Linked DNA regions of Homo sapiens: regions 2, 3 and 4 are each linked to region 1. The links are contacts of gene promoters, found by promoter capture Hi-C in blood cells and fetal thymus (Javierre and others, 2016). All regions are on one chromosome and are shown on one strand. Each heading gives the region's core, a stretch centred on a gene start or on the middle of the fragment in contact. The rest is flanking DNA. Distances are from core to core; before and after follow the strand shown. Region 1 holds the start of CHD1 (chromodomain helicase DNA binding protein 1). Region 2 holds the start of CETN3 (centrin 3). Region 3 overlaps LYSMD3 (LysM domain containing 3). Region 4 has its middle 28 kb from the start of LUCAT1.

The links. Contacts are between HindIII fragments. The CHiCAGO score rates a contact against its expected background, and 5 or more counts as called.
Region 2: a contact is called between the fragment with the promoter of CETN3 here and the fragment with the promoter of CHD1 in region 1, in 5 of 17 cell types (total CD4 T cells, fetal thymus, total CD8 T cells and 2 more). The highest score is 9.8, in total CD4 T cells.
Region 3: a fragment that was not itself captured here is called in contact with the fragment with the promoter of CHD1 in region 1 in 1 of 17 cell types (non-activated CD4 T cells); the score reaches 8.0 in non-activated CD4 T cells.
Region 4: a fragment that was not itself captured here is called in contact with the fragment with the promoter of CHD1 in region 1 in 1 of 17 cell types (activated CD4 T cells); the score reaches 6.4 in activated CD4 T cells.

What each region holds. Positions count from the first base shown.
Region 1 is chr5:98,925,498-98,932,768 of GRCh38, reverse strand. CHD1 (chromodomain helicase DNA binding protein 1) reads left to right here and starts at 3,762. Exons shown (of 36, transcript NM_001270.4): 1 at 3,762-4,230; 2 at 6,235-6,435. The coding sequence starts at 6,383. It overlaps CHD1-DT (CHD1 divergent transcript), which reads right to left and starts at 4,207. Exons shown (of 4, transcript NR_151718.1): 1 at 4,127-4,207. LOC100289230 (a long non-coding RNA gene) reads right to left here and starts at 3,635. Exons shown (of 1, transcript NR_036530.1): 1 at 1,760-3,635. RefSeq lists enhancers at 3,029-3,358, 2,847-3,745 and silencers at 3,519-3,728, 3,989-4,618. The HindIII fragment of the contact is 7,543 bases long and covers 2,088-7,271 here.
Region 2 is chr5:90,406,249-90,413,519 of GRCh38, reverse strand. It overlaps CETN3 (centrin 3), which reads left to right and starts at 3,764. Exons shown (of 5, transcript NM_004365.4): 1 at 3,764-3,875; 2 at 5,686-5,821. The coding sequence starts at 3,859. LOC731157 (a long non-coding RNA gene) reads right to left here and starts at 3,520. Exons shown (of 2, transcript NR_105024.1): 1 at 3,216-3,520; 2 at 2,851-3,020. RefSeq lists an enhancer at 3,795-3,994. The HindIII fragment of the contact is 6,726 bases long and covers 3,674-7,271 here.
Region 3 is chr5:90,519,765-90,527,035 of GRCh38, reverse strand. It overlaps LYSMD3 (LysM domain containing 3), which reads left to right. Exons shown (of 3, transcript NM_198273.2): 2 at 1,736-2,001. The coding sequence starts at 1,747. Among named protein-coding and RNA genes, the nearest start is that of LYSMD3, 6.2 kb to the left of the region's middle. RefSeq lists an enhancer at 2,269-2,770. The HindIII fragment of the contact is 4,027 bases long and covers 2,608-6,634 here.
Region 4 is chr5:91,282,684-91,289,954 of GRCh38, reverse strand. No RefSeq gene overlaps it. Among named protein-coding and RNA genes, the nearest start is that of LUCAT1, 28 kb to the left of the region's middle. The HindIII fragment of the contact is 809 bases long and covers 3,429-4,237 here.

The DNA.
Region 1 (7,271 bases), core at 2,513-5,012:
CCGGTAGTGGGAGTTAAAAAGAAAGGATGAATACAAAATTTCTGCATTAAAATGAGTGGTACCGTTTGTCCCTCAGTATCTGCAGAGAATTAGTTCCAGGACCCCCATTTACCAAAACCTGGGGATGCTCAAGTCCCTTATAGTTGAGCCTCTGTACCTGCAAATCCCTGCAGGTACAGAGGACCAACAGTATTTGGACAGCAGTGAATAAAGAATCTGGGCAAGGGCTGGGCATGGTGGCTCACACCTGTAATCCCAGCACTTTGGGAGGCTGAAGCAGGCAGATCACCTGAGGTCAGGAGTTTGACACCAGCCTTGCCAACATGGTGAAACCCAGTCTCTACTAAAAGTACACAAAATTAGCTGGGTGTGGTGGCGCGTGCCTGTAGTCCCAGCTACTTGGAAGGCTGAGGCATGAGAATCACTTGAACCCAGAAAGCGGAGATTGCAGTGAAATGAGATAGCACCACTGCACTCCAGCCTGGGTGACAAAGTGAGACTCTGTCTCAAAAAAAAAAAAAAAAAAAAAGAATCTGGGCAAGGAAATGAGTGATACAGCATCAATGCAATAATTTTTAAATATTTTTGAGGTTGGCTACTTAACCTTCTTTCTTACTCTGCGTGCACACTTAATTTTTCAGTAGAGGATGGAATCTTTGTATCTTCTTCAATGCCTATTAGATTTTATACATACTTGCCTCTTAGTATCATCTCTAACAATTTTCTGTTTGAAATTTAGCTTTTAGTGATTCAAGAATTTATCATTCAAAATCCCCAAATACAGTGACCATAAAGAAGGTGGATGAGCCGCTGGTAGATATCAGAATAATCTGGGAAACTTCCCAAATACTACCTAGAACCTAGAAATTCTGCATATCAGCAGAGGGGAAGAATAGGAGTGTCAGGCACGTGTAGTTACAAAAGAACTTTCCAGGTGACTGAGTCCTATCCCTTGCCCAACACTGGGAACTAAACTCCTCTAATTTCTTATTAGGAAAACAGAAAATGTACAGCAAATCTTCACTAGAAGATGACTTAGGATTTCATGGTTTCTATTCAGAGGACTTTGTAAATTTAAGAATCATATTGGAAAGACTTCCTCTGGTTTTGCAAGGACATGGGAAATACTGTCACAGGTTGAGATTCTAGGGTATTTTAATAATGTCCCGATTGTTTTTGTGGTTTCTCATATGCAAATCCTCCAGGCAACAAGGACATAATTATGGAATTAAAATCTTAACCCTGGCATCCAAAAAGCTAACAAAGGAGCAAGTTATCCTGTTTATGTTATATATTTCACAATTCTGGATATGTGGTTCCCAGCCTATCCCCACCTAAGGATACCCATTTAGTACTTTACCTAGTAAAGCATATCACAATTAAGGACCCACAAAATGCTGTCTTAGATTCCGGAAAAGTAATATTCTTTCCAAAGAATATGAAATTTTAAAAATGAGAAATTAAATAGTAACAAAAACCTCCTGGTTAATGTTAATTATGTGGAATTTTTCGTTAGTCATGTGTTGAGATTATCAACTGTTTGGCTATTGTTTTAGTACCACTAAGTAGAGATAAAGCTAGTTTATTCAAATAAAGTGACACTGCAAATTTAACTATGTTGATAACAAATCATCAAAAAGGTATCTTTGGATTACCTACACGCTTTTTAAAAAATGAACTGGCAAGATTGTTGCAATTTTCCACCTACTGTGTACTTCTGCAAAGCAATAAAGTATGATTTTACTCGAAATCTAAATCTCCAATGTTCAATATTTTATTACAAATTGGGCAAGATCTTTTTTCGAATAGCATGTTTGATGGCACAATACGACAGAATAGCATATTCAATGGCACAATTAGTAGTAAAAAAACAAAAAACCTGCCTGACGTGCTTCCGGAAAACGTAAAATAGACTGTATATACAGTAATTCTTTTCATAAGACAATGACAAAATGTCAGAGTTGTAATTGAGGACTTTATTAACTGAACTATACTTCTGATTACAACATTCTGTGTATGTTAATAGTTTCTCTGGAGAAATTACGGGCACAGGAAGTTCCTCTCATTAAGGATATTAACATAAAGCTTAATATGAAAAATTAGCACTCAGTTCAGAAATGACGACTTCAGAAATGACTTCAGAAATGACGATTTGTATGATCTTTTCATTCCTCACAACCCAGTATTAAAACTATCTAATATTGCAAAGGATGGTAGTGTTCCACTTCGTTTTGCTATTCAATTATTGCTGATAGATACATGTTTTCAAAAAGGCCATTGGCATCTGTTTGCTTTCTCCTACTTCTCCAAGTGAATACACCCTTCAATATGTAGTAAATACATATGTGGAGTTATGTTTTGAGATTTTTTTGAAGGATTTGAACCAAACTGTTTAAACAGCTGGTAGCCTAAAACTGGAATATTTCCCACAAGGGAAAAATAATTATTTGGGGAATGTATGTTACCACAAACTCATCTGACTTGGAAAGTGCGCCTTTACACCAAATCAAATAACTGAACAATGGGATTAGAAACTTTTAATTATTATTAACCTCGGCCACCGGGCGCCGTGGCTCACGCCTGTAATTCCAGCACTTTGGAAGGCAGTGGCAGGTGGATCGCTCGAGCTCAGGAGTTCAACACCAACCTAGCAACATGACAAAACCCCGCCTCTACAAACATAAATAAAAAACAAAAATCATTAACCTTGAGTGAGTCAAGTTCATCTGCAGACTGAAAAAAATAAAGTGTAACAGAATTTTGATTTAAAAAACGCTTTCAAAAAAGCATTTCAAAATGCTCTAAGTATGTTTCAAAAATACACTTAAAAATATGTTTCCAACACACTGAAGGGATTTAACTAAGATCCACAATTACAGTTACGATACAAACTGTAAGCTAAAAGGCAGCAACTTAAGCTGAGACAGTTACTAACATCCCTCGAGCAGCGTTTTTTGTTGCGATTCGGCGCCGCACCCGTCACCCCGCCCTCCGGGGAGGAACCTAGAAAGGAAGGGTGGTACATTTCTAAACCAGGCCACCCACACATGAATCAAGCGGCATCACAGGCTGTCAACAACCGGGTCTCTATTTTCTCTCCTCCTCCGGCGCCCCGCCCGTGCGGGACATCAGCTCCCAGGATGCGTCAATCGCAGATCGCCCAAGCGTAAGAGGTGGCGAGAGGCCACCACGGTTGCCCAACAGTTGCGTTCCCAGGCTGCCTGGTGTGACGCAGCAGCCCCCGCCCGGACCCTGAGGCCTGGCGCTCCGACTGAGCCGAGGCCTGTGCTACCCGACACTCCTTGCGACCCGGCCCCTTAGGCTTATTCAGCGCGGCCCTTCCCGGCTTCCCGAGTCCCATCGCAGTCTCTCCCCACCCCCGTTCCTCCCCGGTTCCTTGTCAGTGTCCGCCGCGATGTCCTTGCGCAACCATCCCAAGTGACATTAGCGCCCATACCCGCACGGAGCGAGCCTGAAGCTCCCACTTCCCGGAATTCAACGCCGGGCCGCTAAGGGCGGGCACCCAAGCGAGGATCAGCGGACTAAGGCCGCGACCAGAGTCCAGCGGTCTCCGCGCAGTCAGAGTCCGACAGCCTCTGCGCATCCGCCGTGCGCACTCCCATTCGTGCGCGTGCGCGCACTCGCCCCCCCCGCCCCGCCCCAGCACCAATCGCTTTTTTCCTACGCCCACGACCCTTCAACGTAGTCCCTCCCGCCTCCCGCGCGCGAGCAGAAAGGCTTCGGCGTGCGCGCGCCCGCCCGCCTCGCGCTCTGTCGGGAAGGGGAGTGAGCAGAGGCGCTTACGTCGCGCGGGAGGCGGAGGCGACGGCGACCTCGGTGGCGGCGGCGGCTACGACGGAGACGGTTGCGCTCGCTTGCTTTCTCGGCGTCATGGCGGCTGCCGGGGGCAGATAAGCGGAGGGAGCGGGAGCGCGCGCGCGACGGCGGCGGCGGCGGCGGCGACGACTGGTTACTTATAGCTCTTGCTGCCCTCGCCCTTGGTGCTTCAATAATGAATTGTTAGCTCCACTCCGCAGGGGATCGCGCGTTGGTGCTGCGGACCGGGGCTTCCCCTTCCCCTCCGCGTCTGTCCCCTTCCCCCTCCCCCGCACGGACTCTTGCTTACCCCGAGACGCCGGAGCCCTAGGACTGGGCGGCGGAGATCCCGGGCCTGGGCGCGGGGGAGGCCGTCCACCCGAGTCGGCTCCCTCCGCCCCGCCAAGCCCGCCGGTAAGAAAGGGGGCGGCGGGCGGGTCAGGATGTGGCGGAGAGGACAGGAACCGGCCGGGCGGAGGGCGGGCGCGGCGCGGTGCCCAGGCGGCGGCCCAGCGGCCGGGTGAAGGCCGGGTGGCTCTGTGAGTGCCGGTGGCGGTGTACGGGCCTGGCGCGCAGGGGGCGTGTGAGCGGCGAGTACAGGCCGGGGCCGCAGAACGCATCCTTGCGCCGGCCCGGCGGCCCTGCCCCGGCCTCTTCGGCTTGGTGCCGACCGGGCCGCGAGAGGAGACCCGCGAATGGCTAGCACTTAGCCGGTGCGTGGGTCCTGCCGCGACCCGGGCTCCCAGCACGTGGGGAGCGGCGGGAGGGGGAGGGGGCGGCGGCTCGGGCGAGCCTGGGAGGGCGCGGGGCGGGTCTGCGGGAAGTTTGAGGCGGGAAGAGGGACTCCTGGACCGGGATGGAGGCCCTGGGAGAGGGGGGCAGGTCCGCGAGGGAGGCTGATTGGAGCGCGCTGGATGGATGAGTGAGGATGGTTTCCAAACCTCTTTCGAGTGCCGCTTTAAAAACTTAGCAGGAGCAAAGCAACTGCTAAAAGACAGAGGATTGAAGAGGTTTAATAACTTAGGGTAGTCATTGTGGAGACGCTTGAGAGGACACAGCGCTGTGTGCGCTTGGAGCTTCAGAACTCAGGGTTGTGAAAAGGGTCTCAGAGGACTTATTCGGATAAGGGAGATGGAGGGGAAAGGAAGTTAAAATGTACAGAGAAAGCCATTTTGAGGGACGAAAGGAAGGTGAAAAGGAAAGAACGAAAAGGGGAGTGAACTTTTTAAAGGAAGAAACGGGAAAGGCAGTTTGTTAACATACTTAGATTTTTTAAGACTTAATTGTTCAGTAAGGCACTTTGACTAGGGTTGAGATTAATATTTAACATTAGGAATAAATGTTGAGTAGAACGGTTACTTTTTAGATAACCTGTTCTTGCAGAGTCTACTGGACAGTAGTCTAGAGAATTAACATCCTGATCCAGATGCAGACTTTGCTATCATTGAGTTGGTAACAATCTGTTTCCCTCCCTCTCTTGTGGAATGGAAATAATCGTAGGAGTGAATTCTCTTTGCTGAGGTCGGAGGACAGCTCTGCTCTCAGTTGGCTGTCTCGGTACTTTCTGGCTGGGGAAGGATCTGACGTCTCCTTCCCCCGCTTCTTCCTCTCCCTCCCCTGCCAGAGATCTCCTTTGTTTATTCGTGGATGGCTTGTAGGTGATTCTTCAGTGTTGTACTGAAATCTTTAAAGGTGGAAATGGTGTGTCTTGGTTCATTATTCTTGCCCCAAATTTTTTACGTAAAAAATCAGATATAGTGTATATTCTATTACCTTTTCAATTTTTTTCACAAAATAAAAACCAAGTGCAAACTGGTTAAGTATTATTTAAATGTTATCATCCCACTATCCGTTTACCTGTTAAATAACACATTTATTTTGAGCTATGCATTTTTGTTGAGAGTATATGGTATCTTTTATTTGCCTGTTCCTCCCATGGGAGCGTTTTCAGAACTTTCTCACTCAAGTGTATGAAGTTCTTGGTGATAGGAGTGAGGGCTTGATTAAAGGTAACCTCCTCCCACCCCCCCCCCCACTTCATTTATTCGACCAAGTTATCTAATAAGACTCCGTTATCTACTCTTGGGATGTATGCATATGTTACATCGTATCACCTTGCTTTAGGAGTCTATAAAAACATTGTTAGTTGCAGTTAGTCTCTAAAAATCCTTTCACTCCACAAATATTTTAATTTTTTCTGTCCGAAGTATATTAGCAGTAGCATACTAAATTCTAGTTAGCAGTCAGGAGTGTAGTTATTACAAGTCTAGATATTTTAAGTATTTAATAAAAGGCCCCCACTTCTTCCTTAACAGCTGTAGTCTAATTGGCCTACGTAGATTTATACGTTTTAGACAGGGCTTAATTTACCTTTTTTCTGCAGGAAATTTTGTTAATTTATTAATATATTTTCTTTAGGTGAATCAAAGGAGAGTCCCAGAAAACCTGTGACTGTTGAAGAAAATTCATCTGTGAATTTTTATATTCAAGGAGTCAGTATTTATATTCATCTTTTAAACTGGGAAGATTTATATTTTACTTTAAAACTTCTTGATAATAATTTACAATGAATGGACACAGTGATGAAGAAAGTGTTAGAAACAGTAGTGGAGAATCAAGGTAAGTAAGCACTTTGTTATCAATTGTTTACTATGAAGAGAGTTGAAAACTTGACTTTTTTCTTTATTGTTATTGTTGTTATTTAGTTTTCCTCATAGGTAGCAGAGTTTTCAGGTTTTCCTCTTAGCTATCCAAATACTAAAAAAATTCTGATATACGAACCTTTTTTCATAATACAGGTTTTAATTATATTTTTCATTCAGATACACAGTAGATCTTAAATATAGAAAGTTTTTGTTTACTTAAATCTATTTGGAAGTTTATATTTGAGCTAATAATTAAGCTGGAGCATGTATAATAGATTTAAATTGTTTTGACTGTTAGTGAAATTTCTAGATGAAGGCAATAAAAATTTTTTCACTCATCTTTTTCTGGCATTTTGTCTTCTATACCTGTACTGTCCAGTGTGGTAACCACTAGCCACATGTGGCTATTTGAACTCAATTACAAAATATTCAGAATTTACTTAGTCATACTAGATATATTTCAAGTGCTGAATAATCACATGTGGCTAGTGGCTACCATATTGGACAGCACATAGAAAACATTCTATCACTGGAGAAAGTTTTAGACAGTGCTGAGCCAGACATTTGTTGAAATATTACTGTGGCCCTTTTTTATTTTCAGATTGGAGTTTTAATTATCTGTGAAGGAGTTAAGAGTTCTTGCTTGGGTCAAGTGTTTGCAAAGAAGATTCTTTAAATTCTGTAGCTCTCAAATTTTGAGTTATCTGCACATTAGTTTACAATCCATGTAGTTATATGCATTATCATATATAGAAATTAGGAATGTGGGCACTGGAGTCAAACTGTTTGCTTACCCTATTTCTACCTCTT
Region 2 (7,271 bases), core at 2,515-5,014, 8.5 Mb after region 1:
TTCTTCATTCATTTTAAAGACTCAGGCCACGTGCCGTAGCTCACGTTTGTAATCCCAGCACTTCAGGAGGCCAAGGCGCAAGGTGGGAGGTTGCTTGAGCCCAGGAGGTTGAGGTTGCAGTGAGCTATGATCTAAGGCCATGTCATTGCCCTCCAGCCTGGGCAACAGAGAGAACCCCCGTCTCTAAAAAAAGGAAAAAAAAAAGAGTGGAGTTCTAGATAGATGTAAAGAGACAAAACACTGGGGAGAGGAATCTGGAGGAACTGAAGTACAGTGGTTTCCTAAAGAGGTTTTAAATTGACATTTTGTTTTTAGCCCCCTTCTCATTTCCACCTTCTACTGTACAAGGGAACTCTATTCCTGGAGTCTCTCTGGGACTTTGCTAGGTAGATCAACTCTCTGTGAAACATAAGTCATCTCTGGAAAATTATAGGATGCCACTTCAGTGATCTGTTTCATTTGTCAACAAGTTTCCATATTTCTTTTGATCTTTCCAATAATTTTTTAAATACCTAGTCTGCTGATGGTCCCTCTCCAGGTCACTTCAGCTTTAGAAATTAATTTATTGGCTAGGCATGGGAGCTAATTCCTGTAATCTCAACACTCTGGGAGCCTGAGGCTGGAGGGTCACTTGAGACCAGGAGTTCTAGACCAGCCTGGGCAACACAGCAACACAGTGTAAAATTTAAAAAAAATTAGCTGAGCATGGTGGCATGCTTCTGTAGTCCTAACTTTTCAGGAGCTGAGGCGGGAGGATCCTTTGAGCCCAGGAGTTTGAGGTTACAGTGAGTTATGCCACTGCACTCCAGCGTGGGTGATAGAGGAACTCTTGATTTATTAAGGCTTTAGGAGGCAGACTAAACAAATATTTATGTCACTACCTTTTCAAAGCAGACATTTTTATTTACATTTGGCTGTCTCTGGAATTTCTGGTCTGATTACCATTGTACCAAATACATTTTAGTGTCCCATACAGCAATTTTTGTATTATTATTCTTTTTCACAGTTTAGTAAGTTATTTTTATAGAATTGTTGTTGAGATGGTCTTTGGAATACCTTTGTTCAATTCAAGAAAAATATGAGAATTTTGATTGCATCAAATTTAGGTTTAAAATATAATTAGTGTAACCACCTGTCTTATCTTTAGTAATAGATGATTAGACCCCAAGTTTCAGCAGAGCAGTTTTCCATCTAGAGATTTCTTGCCTCAACCTCCCGTGAAGCAAGAAGTGGTTGTCACTAGTTCTCACTAATTAAATATAATAAAAGTGATGCGTGTAAATTCCCTGTCACTCTCTTAAAAGGACACCCTATTGAAAACCTTTTAAAATCTGTTTGCCCAAATTATTTGCTTATAAAACGCACTCTGAGACCAAAAGCATCTCACAAAATCCTAGTGTTTCAGGAATGAGGTTTGAGAAACACTGGTGTTTAAGTATTCTGCCGATCATATTTAAAAAAGTATTTTCTAAACCCACTTTATATCCTAATAGAAAAGGTGTTACCTATTATTCAGTGCCTTTTTGACACTGAGATGATTTCCTTAACCTAACATTATAATTATTTAACACAGATTTATATTTTGAATTATCTTTGCACTTAACAAAAAAAAACTCAATTTAGTTATAGAGAAATGTTCCTTTAAGACAGTATCAAACTGACTTTGCTAACATCTAGGAATTTTGCACTTAAGTTCACAAATGAACATCAAACATGAGTCAGGCACTGGGGATACAATGGTGAGAAACATGCATAGCCTTCATCATCACTGAGCTTACACTGAGTGACTTTAAATGTTCTTTTAGGATGTGAAAGATTATGGCAGCTTCAAAAATTAAGCTAAGAAGCTCTCCATCATTTTCTATGACTTGAGTTTAAAGCACAAGATTTAGCTCTTATGATTTTTAATCATAAATCTGAGTGGGCTGGAGGCTTTTTATTTGTGAGTACAGAACTTTGGCATCTTTGTTCCAGTCCTGTCTGTAGTTATTGACTTAATTCAGTTTTCCACCTTTTTTGAGTTATGTTTTCCTTGAAAAGTGACTATTTCATTTTCTATTAATATTTATTGGCGGTATAAAATTGTATAAAATATTTTAATAATTTTTAAACCTCCCTTTTATTAAATTACCAACCTTACTAGTGGCACTATTCCTTTTCTTGTTACACTTCCTATAAGTCTTTGAATTTCACTGGTATTGCCAAAAACCAGCTTTATACTAGATTATGAGTACTTTATCAATTTTACCAATTTCCTTTTAAAACACTGTTCTCAAACTTTATCTTTACTAATTTCCTCTTCCTAATTTCAATTATACAATTTGTTCTTCGTTTCTAACATCTTCAAATAAATGCTTGGCCTATTTTTATTCTTTCTTATTTAAAATAATGTTCTCCTATAACTTGGTCTGTATCTTAAAATTTTAACATATAGTTTTTTTCAATATCATTATGTTCTAGTAACTACAATTTCTCTTTCCTTTTAGACTCAAAGGTGATTTATAAAGGTACTTTAAAATTTAAAATACGAACAAAATAAAAGTTCCACTTTTGTTTTTTAGGGGTGCTATCCCTTAGCTAATTTTTAGCTTATTCTATCATACTATCTTTCCTTGTGCAAATTTAGCCCATCCTTCTAGGTCTAACGTTTATGTCACCTCCTTTAAGAAGCATATCTTGTGTTCTCTCCCTTCTCTAAAATTTTATATACATCCCTTAAACATATAATGTTTATATATTCTCCGCCTTCAACTCCCATCCTCAGGCTATTTTATTCACGTTTATGAGATTTGCTGTTTAGCTCAGTATTTTGTGGATTTTCAAAAGATTCCACTCAATTTACCGAGCACCTACGCACCAGACATTTTATTAGGTACAAGGAAAAGCGTTAAATAGATATAATCACGGCCTCCAAGAAATTGAACCTAGTAAGAGACACGAATAAGCAGACATTCAAGTGAGCTTTAGGAGACTTGGTTTGGTAGTGAAGACAGTCTCATGTGTGTTAACAGCTTACAGCACTGAAAAATAAGAGACAGAAGGGAACAAATCCGTTTCAAACAGTTCAAAGGAGGAAAGAGAGGGAAAGGTGGTTTAGATACAGCTAAATCATAAATAGCCTGATAATCTAACCCTGTGATAATCCAAGTACAGCCACAGCACCTGCCTCAGAATCACTTGGAAGGCTTGTGAGGAGTAAAAACGCAGATTCATACCTACTGAAATTAGAATGGAGAAACGGACATTTAAGTCTGCATTTTAAACACATTCCCCAGGTACTGAGGCCATTCCAAGTTTTAGAACAGAGCACAGCCAATTTTCGCAGACCTTGTTCCTCAAGTACTCCCTCCTTCTAGCCGGAGGGTGGCCTGCAGCATGTCCCTTCCCTTCCCACCGCCGAAGCTGTCCATCCAGTTTCTGAATGGCGGCCCACAGACCGCACGGCTTTACGAGAGAGGAACACAGCGCCCACCCGCCAAACAGCCACACAGGGATCGGAGGCCGGACCCGCAAAGGATTCGGGGAAAAACGCATCGAGCCAATCCGAAGGGCGAGAGCGGCCCTAGATTGGGGGGGCGGGGGGGCGTTAGGAGGTGGGCGGGGCACAGAAAAAAAATTTTTTTTTCCTTGATTGACGTAAAACCTACCCAATGAAAATAGAACTGGTAAAGCTTCCGCCCCCTAATAGGCAGAACCATAGCGACATTTCAACCAATCCAGCTCAAAAGTGTCTATGTTGTGGGAGGTCCCTGAGGCCGCTGAGGTCGTTCGTGTCTGTTGAACGGCTGTGGGCGTCTTGCTGCCTTGGGTAGGGGGTTAAAATCGTTCTTGAGAGGAACGTCTCTGTGCGAAGAGATAATGAGTTTAGCTCTGAGGTCGGTAATAAGGAGGCGGCAGTGCTCTCCACACCCCGGAGCGGGGCCCAGGGAGGGTGTGTGTGGAAGGGAGGACGTTTGGGGCCGAGGCGAGGCAGGGGATGTAGTTTGGGACGCGGGAAAGGAGCCTAGGGCAGCCTGCCCGGATCACTCACCCTCTGGGCTCTGATGCCCTGCAGGGAACGAGACCAGTGCATTTCTGCTAAGGAGGTTATTTCTGTCAGCGCGTAGGGCTTTGGACTGCCAGAAGGTTGGGCTTAGTTGCGAGCGAGGTGGGAATGAAATATCGCGAGGCTTCTACTCTTGTTTCTCAGATCAGGTCGCGGACATCCCTTCATTCATCCGTGTGCCTGGTCAGGGCCCCACCTCGGCTGCTCCGCTGCTAATGCAATCACCCACCTATAAATTTTGGAAATAACAAAAACTCTTTCCTCTTCTCCCAGGGCCCTGCTTTACGGTGTAATTGGAGACCCATTTTAGTGACTTTAATTGGCAGTCTGTCTCTTGGATTTCCTAAATTTCTTGCATTTTTTTACCTTTCAGTTCTAACCTCTAACCCTCTGTTGCCCTCTCCCACTATGTAGACGTTGTACCGTAAAACTATCCATACACTTACGACACTCCGAAAATATTCCATGTTCTGCTAAGGGATAATCATGGTACCCTTGGATGGGGTCAGGGGTGGGTCGGTTCTGGACTTGGCCTCCAAAAGTCTCAGGAAGGAAAAGACTGACCCCAGGAATACCCAAGTTTGTGTCAAGTCAGGTCTCATGAAAGGAAGATCTTCCTCAGCTTTGTTATACTGCACCTACTAGTCACTTCCTAGCTTTTTTTTTTTTTTTTTGGAGCTTTCAGAGACCAAAACGACTTTCAAATGCAACTAGATAGGTGTTTTAAGTACAGTCAACTGGTTTGACATGTTAATGTGTTACCGGATTGTGTTTCAAAACTCGTTATTCCAGTGTTGCGGCTCCATTTGAAAATTTGGAGCACATTTAGATGGGCAGCTCTTAAGGAAAACATTTCTGGCTTTAAAATAATTTTTGCTTTTTTTCTTTAAGCGTTTCCAGAGTTTATGAGAAGTTAACCTCCGGTTTACATGTTAAATGAGACAAGACTCATCACATTTTTATATAGAATGAAGCACAAACATTGTATATTGGCATCTAATATTTGTCATATGTTTAGACTCATTAATATTTTCGATGGTTTGTTAATATCAATGGAGGAAATGACACATAAATTGCCAAACTGTTAAAAACGTGTAATCTAAAAACATTTTGAACCAACAGTGCTAAAATACTGTATAAGTTAATTCACTTTTTTTTTGTAATTTTATGAACATAATTATCAGAACTATCAACAGTAAACCGATATATAGTGATTGTCAGTTATGAATTTTGGTTTCATTTGGAGATTTTTTTTAAATTCTTTAACATTCTTGTAGGATAACGTGTTTTTGTTTTTTTGGTTGGAGTTGGTTGGAGTTTCAGACATAAAAGTAGTGTTGCTTATTCACAGTTCTTGTTTCTTCCACAGTAACATTAGTGGGAATAAATAAAAAGCTGGGAAAAAGAAAAGTTTGGTCCTCATTTCTTTTAATAATCTGTAACACTCTTTAGTTTTGCGAAGTTCAGATTTATAGCAATTTAGACTATGGAATAAACAGGTCATTGACTCATAAAGGGAAAGTTTCCCTATCTTTCTCCAAAGTACTTTCTTTTTTGAAATTTAGAAGGTAATTATTGGCTAATTTCTGTTAGTAAAGAGAATTAAAGTGGACTAAGGGCTTTTTCTTTCCATTTCATAGAAGTGAGCTTGTAGTGGACAAAACAAAGAGGAAAAAAAGAAGAGAACTGTCTGAGGAACAGAAACAAGAAATTAAAGATGCTTTTGAACTATTTGATACAGACAAAGATGAAGCAATAGATTATCATGAATTAAAGGTAATGGTATACTTTAAAATATTTGTTTCTGTGTTAAAATGATTTGCATTTTTACAGTTGCTTTACATTACATTTCTAAATAATTATTTTAACTAAATTGGTTTTGGAACTATGAAGGCATTTTAAGCATTCATAGTTAGATGCTGTAATAAAACTGAAGAGAACTCCTAACATAGTTTTTAGAAAATCTTTTTCACATGAGAAAACGAATAGTATTTTAAATGTAAAAATACATTCCCAGGGAAGGTGCTTATTTTTCACTGTCATAATTAAAGGATTTCAAACTGGAATTTATTCTTACCATCTTCTTTTCACTGTTTTTTGTTTTTGTTTTTGTTTCTTGGTGACTCATACTGTTTTCAGACTGTGGGAGTGTTGTCTTTTAATCTTATAATTTGGATTTGTTAGTAACATAGTCTCAATCCACTTTCTCTGGTGCAAACAACTTTAGTGCTGTTTGATGTTGACACATGCTAATAGGTAAAAATGTCAGCTTTAAGACCTAGAATGTCAAAGTGTAGGGAGAGATTTGTAAATTATTATTTGTCAGGGTATAAGGAGAGATTTGGGTTTAGGGTAGAATGGGACTTACTTTCAGCACAGTGGGAAAGATAGTATTTTGAGATTTTTAATGGCCTTAATGGATAGGTGAATGTAAGTGTTTATTTGGTAGTTTTAATTTTTGTAATTTCGTAAGGGATTTTTAAGCATTAGAATTCCAAGTAGGGATAGGAACTATGCAGTGACAGGATAGAATGTATAAAAGCAGTTAATAGGCCTGCTAAGTCTAGCTTTCTCAATCTTGCAGTCCTCTTTGGCTCTCTTTTCCCACTGTTTTTTTTGTTTTTTTTTTTTTTTGGTTACCCAGATTTGATCTTCCTTTATAATGTCTGTTCCATTTGTAACCATTGACTATCTTGGTTTGGGACCTTATTTCATACCTGGAGCTTCCTAAATGATTTCTTACTAGTTCACCTTGTACACTACCACTGAATTTAGATAGTTTAAAAATTCTTTCACCATTGCTCATAAATTGTTCATTGCTCATAAACCATAACTCCTCATTGTATACTACTTAAAGTTCAGATTCCTTTGCTTTCTACTGAATGTTCTCTACACTTTTGCCACCAACTACTTTTTTCATTTGCTAACTGCTTTCTTCCTCCTGAACTCTTCTAATTAAGGTGGAATTCACCTCCTAATTCAGGTGAGCAGTTTACCTCACCTGAACTTTTCTAATTCAGGTGAGGTAAACTGCTCTGTTCATTGTCCTTCGAACCTATTCGTTTCAGTGTTTCTTTTAATACCAGTCATCCTTCCCAAATACCCTACTGCTCCTCTTCATCTATCCTTCAAGGAACAGTTTGAATCTTTCCAAATAAGACTTCTCTAGTCAGTAATATGTCTCCTTCCTTATTATTAGTAACAAAATCTCTTTTTTCTCTAAACT
Region 3 (7,271 bases), core at 3,372-5,871, 8.4 Mb after region 1:
CCTCTTCTGGACACTCCTTATCCATATTTTCAGGCTGATTTCCTTTCACCAAGATACTGAATTTTGGACTTCTTCAAGGCTCAGTCTTGGACCCTCTTCTTTTTCTATACTCTCTAGGTAATATATGTACTCACAAATTCATTTTCATCTATGTGCAAATTAGTCATGAAATTTTATTTCTAACCTAGACCTTTTCTCTGAGTTTGACTATATAGCCCATTTGTCTATTTGCCATTCCTTTTTACTATCTTAGAGGAATTCATAATCATAGCCATGCACCTCCTCCCCCAGCTCCTCTTCCATATCTCAGAGAATGGCACCACAATGTATTATGCAAATCAGAAATCTTGGTGTGATGCTTAATTTACTCCCTCTCTTCATGTCTGAACCACCTTGAGTGCAAAGAATTTTATCTCCAAAGTGCTTCTTACTACTTCCCTCCATCTTTCCCAACAAGAACTGAAAGCAGTCTGCCCCTTCTTATGTGAATAATTAACACGAAGCCAAAACTGTGAATGTGGAATTAGTTTTTTAGGTTCTTGTGTTCCTAATTAAAGAGAGTAGATAGATCAACTTGATGATGGTGAGTTGAGAGTTAGTATGCAAGTAAACAAAAAGTATTCATTGATGCCTGTTTTTAACTTAGGTCAGCTCCCAGTCAGTCTTACAATGGTTTTTCTAAAGTATAAATGAACACAGTAACCTAAAATCTGTTCACAGTCTTTATGGACCATAAGTTGAATTTGATGAGGACTCTAAGTTGGCTAAAAAGCTTCCAGGGAAGAAAAATTCCTGCTTCCAGGGAAGCAAAATCATAACCTATATTGCAGGCATATCTGCACTAAATATAAATACCAAAGTCCAGGAGGAAGTAATACGAAAGATACTCCAATCCTGAATGAAGTTGAAATGCAGAACAAGCTGGAAAGTTTTGAATTCATGAAAGTATTATGTGTATATAAAACATGCTTTGATTCCATCAGAGCTATAAGTTATATAGTCACAAGTTTTTAAGACATAACACAATTATTTCTCTGATTTTCTTCACATACTCAGAATAAGGGGAATTTACGATTTTATATTTAATGTAATATTTTATAGTATTTAATTTTATAAGTTATATTTTTACCAAAAGAATTATAGCAATTTGCCTTTGTTAATATGTAATTACTCCACGTGTTTAGTGATATATGATCTAATAGAGGAGATTACCTCTTCTTCCCTTACCTTTGTCTCCACTGCCAAATACGTTTGTTCTACTTTAACAGTTGTAAAACCTGAACCTAGGCCAGGCGCAGTGGCTCACACCTGTAATCGTAGCACTTTGGGAGGCTGAAGTGGGCAGATCACCTGAGGTCAAGAGTTCGAGACCAGCCTGGCCAACATGGTGAAACCCTGTCTCTACTAAAAATACAAAAATTAGCTGGGCGTAGTGGTGGGCGCCTGTAATCCCAGCTACTCGGGAGACTGAAACAGGAGAATCACTTAAACCTGGGAGGCAAAGGTTGCAGTGAGCTGAGATCGCACTACTGCACTCCAGCCTGGGTGACAGAGTGAGACTCCATCTCAAAACAAAACAAAACAAAACAAAAAAACGAACTTAAACCTAAATGTTTAAATAACTAAAACCATTAAAACAAAAACAAAAGATTGTGTCCTGAATGTACGATGCATGCAAATCAGTCAGTTGGATCAGCTACATTCCAAAATTTTCTCTGCTTTTTTTTTCCTCCAGATTTTAACATTATGGCAGGGAGGCATCAGAATCGTAGTTTTCCTCTTCCAGGAGTTCAGTCAAGTGGTCAAGTACATGCATTTGGAAATTGTTCAGACAGTGATATTTTGGAGGAGGATGCTGAAGTGTATGAACTTCGATCCAGAGGAAAAGAGAAAGTCCGAAGAAGTACATCAAGAGATAGACTTGACGACATTATAGTATTAACAAAAGATATACAAGAAGGAGATACATTAAATGCAATAGCCCTTCAGTACTGTTGTACGGTAAGTTTTAATATTACATAATGCAATTCAGAAGAAATTATTTGTTTACGCACACTGAAATAAATTCTGTGTCCTTTTTTACCTTGTTTATTCCTTTCTCCATTTTTTGCTCTTATTTTTTGCATAGAAATCTGTGTCACATGGGCTGGGCGCGGTGGCTCACGCCTGTAATCCCAGCACTTTGGGAGGCCGAGGCGGGTGGATCACGAGGTCAGGAGCTTGAGACCATCCTAGCTAACACAGTGAAACCCCGTCTCTACTAAAAATACAAAAAAATTAGCCGGGCGTGTTGGCAGGCGCCTGTAGTCCCAGCTACTCTGGAGGCTGAGGCAGGAGAATGGCATGAACCTGGGAGGCGGAGCTTGCAGGAGCCGAGATCGCGCCACTGCACTCCAGCCTGGGCGACCGAGCGAGACTCCGTCTCCAAAAAAGGAAAGAAAAAAGAAATCTGTGTCACATTTGTAGATGTTTACTTTTTAAATATTTAACAAATACTTGAATTTCTGTGTATTTCCAAATCCACGAATTTCAGTATTGAAAAACACTCAACTATGTTATCTTCTTATTCAAATGGTAAGAAAATGTGGAAATGTGTAAGGAAAAGCTTTTCCCTGCCCCAATTTCTTGAGATAACCAGCATTAACACTTTGGCATGTAGGAATGCTTTACCTTTTTTTGTGCTCATAAGTATTTATTTATATATACATATTTGGGGAGTTAGTAATCTTTGTATTTTTAAAAGTGGATTATATTATGCATTTTACTCTGCAACTTGCATTTTTCATTCTTTAGTGTATCATGGACACCCTCATGACCATCCCTCAAAGCCTTATTAACTCATTATTTTAAATGGTTGTATAATGTCTGTAGTATTAACGTTCCAGTATTTTTAAGCCATTGCCCTATTAATTGATACTCAGGATTTTCTTGGTGTTTTACCTTGTGTGGCAAATATCATCACAACTATATCTTTAAATGGCACTGCCTTTACTTCTGTGGGATAGATCCTAAAAGTGGGATTGCCAGATAAGAGGAAAGGTGTATTTTTAATTTTAATAGATACTATACTCTATTTGGACCCATTTTCTCTCTGTGTCATTATGTCCATCTTGAGGCCTTAGCAGGATATTTTTATATCCACATTGATATGGAAACTGGTTAGAACATTTGTTTTCAAACTTTTTGTTCTCATACTCCCAATAGAATTTTGAAATATATGTACTATGTACCTCATTGCACATTTTTAAGTGAACTTCCTAAATTCTTCCTCATGACTTAACATAGTTACAAATGGTATAATTTTCAGAATGTTGTATTAACATTTAAAAATAAGACTGTTAGAGTGCTCTTTAAATGCATCCACAGAATTCTAAGTACCACCAGGATTTGCTACCTGAAATTTGTATTTTTAAAAAAAGTGGAAAGTGTGTGTATGAGAGCTCTTTTTTCAATAGCATGAGATTTTATATCATTCCTTTTTCTCATTAATATTTTCATCTTCCCCCCAAATTTTTCATGATGTAAAGTATTTTTATACTTGAAAAACCTTTTATTGATTACCTGTAATACTTCTCTGCAATAGGAACACACATGTCTATAAGTTTATATTATATAAATGTATTTATATTCTAAAAAAATTATGGTCATGAGGTTTTCTTCTACATTTGCAACTATTGCAATAATTCACATTTCTTATTACAATTCACAATTCATCAAAACATTTCAAATTTTGATATTAAAATTTAATAAAATATTTTATTAAAATGAATTTTTTGATGTGGTGTAAGAGCTGGGTAGTTTTTTCCTCCTACCTTGCTCATGTATGAAAACATCAATTCTTGCCATTATTAAATCAGAAAATATCTAAGTTTATTTCTAAATGCAAATAAACATGTGAGTAAATGTTTTGTAGAGAAATAAGACCATTGATAAATAAATTACAGAATATGTCATAGAAGGTAGATGGTGGAATACACTTCAAAATGAGACACAAGGCTAAAAAACATCAAGGTACAGATCCGAGAGGAGAGTTTGTGATTCAGTAGTTTTATAAGACATTAGCTTTCTTTTAATGAACCTAGAAAATTTTCTTAGGGAAATTTAACATACCATCTGAATAATTAAAAATAGGTCATATTTCCAATGAGGTGTAAAGATGTTTCAGGCATTCAACAGTGATGTGAAGAAGATTTCAAGGAGGAAATATGGTAAACAACAAAGGGAATTTTCATAGTTATTTCCGAAGTGAGTGGCACAGACTATTTGGGATGAAATGCTTTGAGACACTATGGAAAAGTTTGATCCATACAGTAAGAGAACAAATATTGTAAGGTTTTAACAGGAGTGATACAGAATGGAAAAGTTTGATCCATATAGTAAGAGAATACAATTATTGTAGAGTTTTAACAGGAGTGATACAGAATAGCAGAGGGGCCTGCTGATGAATTGAAGGGGATCCAATAAAGAGATTACTGGAATAATAAAGATGATCAGGACTTAGACTAAAATATTTGTGATAAGGATAGAGAAGAAGTGTTAATGTATTGGGGGAAATCACAGGATATATCAGCTGAATGCTTATGTGAAATGAGAATGATGAAAAGTACTTAAATGGAGAGATGGCATTGGCCACTGTATTAGTCTGTGTTCACATTGCTATAAAGAAATACCTGAGACTGGGTAGTTTATAAGAAAAGAGGTTTAATTGGCTCATGGTTCTGCAGGTTGTACATAAGCAGGCAGCATCTACTTCTGGGGAGGCCTCAGAGAGCTTTTACTTAACGGCAGAAGGCAAAGCCAGAGCAGGCATTTTCACATGGCTGGAGCAGGAAGAAGAGCGAGTGAGGGAGGAGGTTCCACACACTTTTAAACAATCAGATCTCACAAGAACTCAGGACAGTATCAAGGGGGAAATCTACCTCCATGATCCAATCACCTCCCCCAGGCCCCACCCCTAACATTGGAGATTACAAGATGACATGAGATTTGGGTGGGGACATATCAGCCACTATAGTGGGAAAGGGATGAACAGAATTAGTTAAGATAAGCAGTGCTCCTTTTTGATGGAAGCATAAGCAACAAAAAAAATTATAAAAATATTTATCATTATAAAAGGATCTATCATTTAAAAAATACAGTAAGTAGCTAGTGGTATATTCCACTTAGAAATAATCTTAAGAATTATTAAAAATCTGTCAGTTATACAACTGTGATGAGAAGAATAAAAAGTCCAAGGTTGGAATCTTGAATGCAACCAAGGAAGTTGGCATAGCATAGAAGTCATTATAGGGATATTCAGGGAGATAACTTAGGTAGATACTAAACCTTGGAACCCTAATTCAAAAAGAGTATTAAGTAGTTATTAGTAAGAGTACACAATACCAAGCAAAAGAGCATTTAAAGAGAATGGGGTCAGACTGGGATTTTTCAGTGAATCTTCATTTGCTATAAGACAAAACAGTGCGAAGGTAGTAAGATGATAAAACACACTTTATCTTTACTGTTTCATCTTTTAGTTATTGTTCAACCCTTTCCTTCCAATCCCCCCACACATACATTGCAAGATAGTTTTTCCAGCTTGACCTCTTTTAGTCTTCATTGTACTTGATCACGAATCTACAGTGGATTCTGTTCACTACTCCCTGCTAAAGACCCTCTCTGCTTGACCACCTTGACTTTTCAGGTTTCTGGTTTTCCTACTATTAACATTTAATAATAGCTAACTTTTATATGACATACCATAAATCACTGTTCTGAGTGTCCTACAACATTTAAATCATTAATGTTCACCTCAACCCTATAATGTAGGTAGTATTATTACTGCCATATTGCAGGTGTGGAACCTTAATGGCAAAGAGGTTAAACAACTTGCCCCAGGTCATACAGCTAGAAAGTGTCAAAGCCATGCCTCAAACCCAGTTATCCATGCTTTTAACCACTATTGTATATTCCCTTCCTGGCCATTCGTAATCTCCTTTGTGGATTTTTGTTACTCAGCATACCCATCAAATGTTGGAGTTCTTCAGGGATGATCTTGTTGCTTTTTTCTCTCAGGCTTTTTCTAGTGAATCTCTCTACTCTTTGACCTCTTTGACTTCAATTACTTTTTTTTTTTTTGAGATGGAGTCTCGCTCTGTTGCCCAGGCTGGAGTGCAGTGGCACAATCTCTGCTCACTGTAACCACCACCTCCCGGCTTCCAGTAATTCTCCTGCCTCAGCCTCCGGAGTAGCTGGGACTACAGGCATGCACCACCATGCCTGGCTAATTTTTGTATTTTTAGTAGAGATGGGGTTTCACCTGTTGGCCACACTGGTCTTGAACTCCTGACCTCAGGTGATCTACCTGCCTCGGCCTCCCAAAGTGCTGGGATTACAGGCATGAGCCACCACGTCTGGCTGACTTCAATTACATTTTTGCTGATAGTCCATAAATCTGTGTCTCTAGCCGAGATCGTTCTTGAGTTTCAGACATATATCTACAACTCTGTCCTGAACATCTTCCACTTCTGTATCTCAAGCAGCTCCAAGTCAGCATATCTAAAATCTGCATTTAGCCTCTTTTTACCCTCCACAGTGTTCCATTTCTCAATGAATGCCATCGTCCATCAAGTTGACCAAACCAGAAATCTAAGCTTCATACTAGACCCACTTTATCTCTCTGACATGAATCAGGTGATACATGATTAGGTTTTAAAGTATTGATGGAAATGAATGGGACTAATAGATGGTGGGAGAGCCTGGCATACCAATTGGTAATCTGCCAGACACTCCCCTCTTCCCCCAACACAGTGGAATAGGATATACAGACAGGTTATCTCACAGTGGATGGGATAATACAAACAGGTTGAGGAATGTATAATATATAGAGAAAAAGCTTATAAAAGTGATTAATCTTGAAAGTAGTTGAATAATGCATTTACACTGAGAAGTTTGGGAGGGAAATGGCTTCAGAAATAAGGGGGATAAATTACCAATTTTTTAAATTCTAAGGTATATATGCTTTTCCACACATTTTAGCATCTTTTTTTGGAATGGTGGCATCTTCAATTTTTGGTGAAGTTTTTTTTTTCCCTAGATATACATAAAATAATACTGCATCTTAGAGTTATGGCATCTTAGTTTTGATAAAATATGGTAGTTTTAGTTGGGTAGCATTTGTCTATATTCCAGTTTCCAAACTGGAATAAAGAACATAACTACCCATAATCCTTCCTTCACAAATTGTTTACAAGCAGAAGGACTGTGGTATTTATGCATGATGCACAAAGGGA
Region 4 (7,271 bases), core at 2,584-5,083, 7.6 Mb after region 1:
GGCTTATTAATGCAACAGCACTTATATAGTAACCAAGCAGTTGTTATATTTGAACATTTCTGATAAGAGAGCAGTATCTACAGCAAAATCTCTGGGGCTTCCTTTTGATTCTCCAAGGTGCTTCTGGCCTAAGCATCTTAATGGTGGTTTGGCAATCCTGGTTCCACCCTCTATGCTAACAAGGTGCAAAGCCTGCAGTAGTCCCCATCCCCAGGTAATAAAAAACTCAGTCATAGTCTCCAGTGGTCTATGCTGTATTTGGAAGAAGGGCATAAAGTCTTTTCCTGATTTCTGAGTGGCCTCAAAAAAGCATCCAAAAAAAAAAGCATCTATCTGTATAAGGGAGATAATCATTCTGTGATAGTTCGCCTCAAGAGGTATTATATAAAGCTAAAGATTATAGGCTGAGGCCAGACATAGTTGCTCACACCTGTAATCCCAGCGCTTGGGAGGCCAAGATGGGAGGATGGTTTGAGGCCAGGAGTTGAAGGCCAGCCTGGGCAACATAGAAAGACCTTGACTTCACACAAAACAAACAAACAAAAACAAAAACAATACAGGTTGAAGGGCAAACTATGCAATGCTATGATTATCATTATTCAGATAATGGTTAACTGAATGTAAATGATTCATCATATGAATAAAACCATTAACTGCTTTGTGTGTTGTTTACTACAGCCATTCCCTATATCAATGTAAAGTCTGGATAGCAGCATCTTAACAGTGGACTTCTGAATTTTTATTTTTATTTTTATGTTTTATTTTGTAGAGATGGTCTCCCTATGTTGCTTAGGCTAGAGTGCAGTGGTTACTCACAGGCATGATCCCACTTCTAATCAGCGTGGGACTTTTTACCTGCTGTTTCCAATCTGGGTGGGTTCATTTCTCCTTAGGCCACTTGGTAGGCCCAGCTCCAGTATCGACACTGATGGGCATACATAAGGCATTACAGGCCAGAACTGGACCCAAGTGATCCTCCAACCTCAGTCTCTCAAGTAGATGAGACTACAGGTGCTTTCCACCATCGCTGGTAACTCCTAGATTTTATTCCAGATAGGTCTTTAATTCATTTGGGTCTCTGAGTCTTTCATTCCTGGGTCCTGAAACAAAGATCCTCCTTTTCCATTAGAAAGGAGGTTCTCTCCTACAAGGCATGCAGTTTAGAGGCAGGCGCAGGCTTAGCCAGATGAAAAAGGACAGATGCACATGGCTAAATGTCAGCTGAATTAGGCCTGCCCTGGTTCACACAGATCTTTTACGTAATCTGATTATCTTGTTGAAAAGAAAAGCTGTTTGTACATCAACATTTGGCAAGTATTAATAAGCATACTGTGTTTTCTTACAGTTATTAATATAATAAGAAGAAATGTTCCTTGGCAAGTACATATGGCATTAAGAGTATCCAAAATTCCTGTATTCTTCAAAACTTATCTAGAAATGTTAGTGAATCATTCTCCCCATCACATTTAACAAAAGCATATATTATGCACACTCGTGGAATAAACACATACATGGTTGTAAATAATCACTTTAAGGCAACTCTGATATTTGAAGCCATGGGAAAGAGTCTGGCCTTTTTTTTTCTATTACTTGTTTCCTCAGGGTCCATGGAAATGCTGAGGAATTGCTTAAGTTTTCATCTGCTGGGATGAATGCCAACTTTATGCTCTGGTCTGGCTGTAGAAAATCCCAGAGTAGATCTAAGAATATCTTGGTTGGGGGCAAATAATGAGGTCATCATTGTCATCATCCTTCCAGTGCAGATCCTGGCCTTCCATATTTTTTCTTTTCCACAGAGGGCTCTCAGGTAGGCTCTCATCACCTAATGGGTCAAGGCCTGCCTGGCTCCACAAGGTACCCCGCAAGGACATTTCTGGGGCTTATTCAAGGAAAGAACATAGGCAAAGATTGCCTCAAGTGCCCTAGAATTTCTCTCTTGACTTTGTTCCTTAAAGTAGAAAACAAACTTCTGTAGGCAGGAGGCTGTGGCAATTATTTTACGTAGTTCATGGGCTATAACTTCAGAGATTCTTCCCTGAGGAAAACTGGGTACTGTGGAGATTCAAATTGTAATCTGAACTCAAGATAGGGAGATATGTTTATTCTTCCTTGGAGATAGCGATGATGTGAATTGTGTCATTATTTCTTTTGGATTTGATTAAAAGGGAATATATTTTATATTCTTCTACTTTTCTCAATAACATCCCTATAAAGGCTGGTTCATATATTATAGTGATTGCCACCCCTCACACCCTGGTGTGTTCCTACATTTACGTTATTGAAATCCCTAACAACCTTCTCACCCACTTTTGCTTAGAACTGGTGAAGCACAGAGGTACGTCAGAAAATTTTTCTTTTTTTTCTTTTTCTTTCTTCTTCTTTTTTTAAATACAGGGTCTCACTCTGTTGCCCAGGCTGGAGTGCTCTGTTGCCCAGGTACATTTATGGCTCACTGTAGCCTCCCTACTGAGCTCAAGCCATCCTTGCTCCTCAGCTTCCTGAGTAGCTGGAACTACTGTAGGCATGCACCACCATACCTGGCTAATTTTTGTATTTTTTGTAGAGATGGGGTTTTGCCATATTGCCCAGGCTGGCCTCCAACTCCTGGTCTTAAGCAATTCTTCCACGTCAGCCTCCCATAGTGCTGGTATTGCAGGCATGAGCCACTGTGCCCAGACAGAAAAGTTTTCTAAACTAGAAAATAAACTCATTTATTTATTCAACAAACACAATCAACTACATTCACTGTTGAATTATACTCAATACGAATTAACTCACTGAAATCAACTAAAACAATCCCCTTCTGAATTTTTGTTGATAAAATAGATACCTGAAGCATATGATAAGGGAAAGAGAGCTAGTCTTGGAATCCAGTCCTACCTCTACCAATTCCTAGATGTGAAATTCTTGGTGAAATATTTAACTTTTCTCAGTTATAGTCTCTCTATAAAAATGAAGAGTGCAGAAATGAAGCAGAATAGTATAAGATCTCAAGCTTTGCAGTTGGACGGGCCTGGATTCCAATCCAGTTCTTTTCTGCTGCTTATTAGTTGAGTGTCCTTGGGAAAGTTACTTAAACTTCTTATTTCTCAGTTACTTTATCTGTGAAAATAGGAATGATACCACCTCACCTCACAAAGCTGTATTTCCAAGGATCAAATTTTAAAATGTTGACAAAGTGTTTAGTATCTATCTGGCTCATAACAGTATTCATTAAGCTGTGTTTTTAAAAAAAAAATCTGGGAAGAACTTTTGGGATCACAAAGTATAAACTCTTTTACTTTTCTTTGTGTGTGTGTTCGTGTGTCCCTACCCGTCCCTGCACCGACTCCTGTTACTTTTCAAAAGGAAAAACGGAGCCCGAGCAGCTAAGGATCTTGCCCACGGTCACTGAATTAGCAATGCTTGTGATGAACATTCCCAAAGCTTTTATGAGCTCTACGATCTGGAATAGGTCTCTTTGTGATCTGTTCTCCTACTTGCTAAATATATGAAATATTAAACTTCATAATCACAAAGTTTCTGTATCCATCTAAAAATGCCAAAGATTGCATTGCTATTTATTGAGCGCCAATGTTCAGAGAATGTTGCTACCTATTGTGGATGCTATAACATGCATGTAAGAATTTGTCTCTTGTCTCAAGAGTGCTTACAGTTTAGTTGGAGAGACATTTATATAGACACTTATGAGACATGTAAACCACTGACATAGCCACTTGACATGGCTGAAGTTCAAATGTCAAAAGGATAAGACATGAACAGCAATGTATGCCACAAGGTCCTGCAGAGGGTGAGATCCATTTGGCTTGAGGTGTTAGTGATCAGTCTTCAAAGAGAAAATAGGAGTTTTATCTGTGCATTAAGGCTGAGTTGGATTTGAATACAGAGACAGGAGAAGGGAAGTCATCATGTGCCTTGAACTAGTGCAAAAGTACAGAGGTAAAGATAGTCACCGTTAAGCGTCCCACGATTTAGTACTGAAAATTGCAGAGATTACTGAATGAATTTATTAAAGGAAATAATTCTGAGTCTGTCAATACAGTCATGCATTGCTTAATGATGGAGATACATTCTGAGAAACAAATCCATAGGTGATTTCATCATTGTGTGAACACCACAGAGTACACAGACCTAGATGGTATAGCCTACTATACACCTAGGCTATATAGTATAGCTGTGAAAGGAAAATAAAATCTTGGAATACTAAACTCACTATGCCAAAGGGAGAAGTTAAGCTTGGGAAAGAAGTCATGCAAAAACTGCCTTCCTTTTGCTCCTAAACAGCTGCAGCACAGAGGGCCACATAGCTCCCCACGTGGCCTCCCTCACAAACTGCTCACAATGAAATTCTTTGTGGGCCCAAGTCTTTATCCTAAAACAGAGTTCTGTGGAATCACATCCTGATAACGTAAATTAACAGTTTACCTTCACAGGTACTGGACAAATACAAGATTAGAAATCATCCCTCTGCCCACCCTGAGAAATATTCATGTTTGACTTCTGATATGGTCTGTGTCCCCACCCAAATTTCATCATGAATTCCTACCTGTTCTGGGAAGGGCCCTGTAGGAGGTAATTGAATCCTGAGGGCGGGTCTTTCCCATGCTGTTCTCGTGATAGTGAATAAGTCTCATGAGATCTGACAGTTTTAGAAGAGGGAATTTCCCTGCAAAAGCTCCTTTTTATGCCTGCTGCCATCCATGTAAGACATGACTTGCTCCTCCTTTCCTTCCGCTATGATTGTGAGGCTTCTCCAGCCATTGTGGAACTGTAAGTCCATTAAACTCTTTTTCCTGTATAAATTACCCAGTCTCAGGTATGTCTTTATCAGCAGCGTGAAAACAGACTAATACAATTTCTTTCTCTACTCTATGTTTATACTACATAAAATGCAGATTTACTTTGTGAGAGGAATGTATAATTGACTGTTGCTCTTTCCCCACCTGCCTGCTCTTTCTCCTTTAAAAACTGAAGTCCTAAAGACTCTTTGGAAAAAACACAGTCCACAGATTCTAGTGTAACTTGTGTCTCTTTTTCCTGGTGTGTCCTCAGTCTGAGTAAAATAAGCCTCTAAATTGATGAGATTTGTCTCACTTTTTGGTTTACATAGCCTATTGCTCCTAGGCTACAAAGCTATACAGCATGTTACTGTACTGAATACTATAGGCAATTGTAACACAGTTGTGTTTGTATCTCTAAACATATCTAAACATAGAAAAGGTAACACATTGTGCTACAACCTTACAATGACTATGATGTCACTAAAAAATTTTCAGCTGCATCATAATCTTATGGAACCATCATCATGTATGGAGTCTGTTGTTTCATTTACAAAGGAGTTGTGTTCTTTTGGTGGGGGGTAATTTTGAAACAAATATCTTTCTCTGTTTTTTGGGGTTTTGGGTATTGTTTTGTTTTGTTTTGTCTTGTTTTGAGTCAGGGTCTTACTCTGTCATCCAGGCTGGTGTGCTGTGGTGCTATCATAGCTCACTACAGCCTCAACCTCCTGGCCCCAGGAGATTCTCCTGCCCTGGCCTTCCAAAGTGTTAGGATTACAGGCATGAGCCACCGTGGTAGCTGAAATCCCTTTCTTTGAAGCACATTAGAGAATGAAAAAGAAAAGAGAGAAAAAAATAAGAGAAAGAATAAAAAGAAATTGCTGTGTCCTGAGTCATGTCCCTCCTGGTAAATAAAATTTATGGGAAGCCATTATTTTGGACTGAGGTCCCATAGTAGGGCCCAATAGACCAAACCACATAATCAAGCTAAAACCTTAAGGAAGCAGATAAATCCCCAAACACACCAGTTTTTCTTGAAAACAAGAGGTTCACTCACAGCCATCACTTGGAAAAGACCCAGTCAACTTGAGTCACCCTAATAAGGAAGTCCTTCTGCTTTAAACCTTATAAGAAAAGTAACCTGAAGTAACCTGATGTTAACCATTCTGCTTTTTTCTATATTTGTTTCCTTGTTCTCATATAAAAACTAACTGTTGCAATGAGTGCTGATCATGCCACTGTACTCCAGCCTGGACAACAGAGTGAGACCCTTTCTCAAAAAAAGCAAAAAACAAAAAAGTAACTGTTTTGCTAAACCCAGTAGAGCACTCATTATTTTATAGAATAAAATGCTGCCTGATTCTAGAATCCCAAATAAAAGCCAGTTTGATCTTTAAATTTGTTTTAATTTTGTCTTTTAACACCGTCAAAAGTCATATATTGAAGCCTAAAACCCGCCCCTTCTCTCTCTCCTCACCACCCTGTGTGTACACAAAGAAGAGATCATTTGAGCATCCACCTGCAAGCGAAGAGAAGAGGCTTTAGAATGAAACCTTCCTTGCTGGCACCCTGATCTTTCCAATCTCCAGAACTGTGAGAAGTATATCTCTATTGCTTAAGCCACACAGTCTGTGGTACTTTGTTATGGCAGCCCAAGCTGAGTAAGACAAATACTATTTCAAGAAAGTGACTTATTACTGGGTGCGGTGGCTCACACCTGTAATCCTAGCACGTTGGGGGTTGGAGACAGGCAGATACTTGAGATCAGGAGTTCAAGACCAGCCTGGCCAACATGGTGAAACCCCACCTCTACTAAAAATACAAAAAATTAGCTGGGGGTGGTGGTGTGTGCCTGTCCTAGCTACTTGGGAGGCTGAGGCAGGAGAATTACTTGAACCCAGGAGGCAGAGGTTGCAGTGAGCTGAGATCATGTCACTGCACTCCAGCCTGGACAACAGAGCAAGACCCCATCAAAAAAAAGAAAAAGAAAAAAAGAAAATGACTTAGTGACTTATCTCTTATGAGCTGCTTGGGGAAGTTGATGGGAGATTGGTCACTAACTTCTATCAACAGCTAAGCTCATCAGCCTTATATCTGGACAGAACCAAATTTCTGTCTCAGCTAAATAATGCATTCCTGTATGGCAAAGGGGCAATAGTACAATAGTATATCCTCTCTGCCCAGTGACTGCTATGGTACTTTGTCAAGGAGCTCTCTCCGAGGATGGGAGAAAAGCGTTCTTGCCTGGTTGTTTTGCATCACCTACCACTTTTCTGGCCAACTGATGATTGTAGGGCATTCCTTTTATTTAGATTTCCTTTATTTCTTTCATCTCTCCACTCATAATCAAAGAACATTAAGTACTTGCTCAGGTGTTTTAGACTCTTGTCTAAGGATCTTGCCCAAGGTCACTGTATTAGTCTGTTTTCACACTCTATATATAAAGAAATACTTGAGACTGAGTAATTTATAAGAAAAAAAAGAGGTTTAATT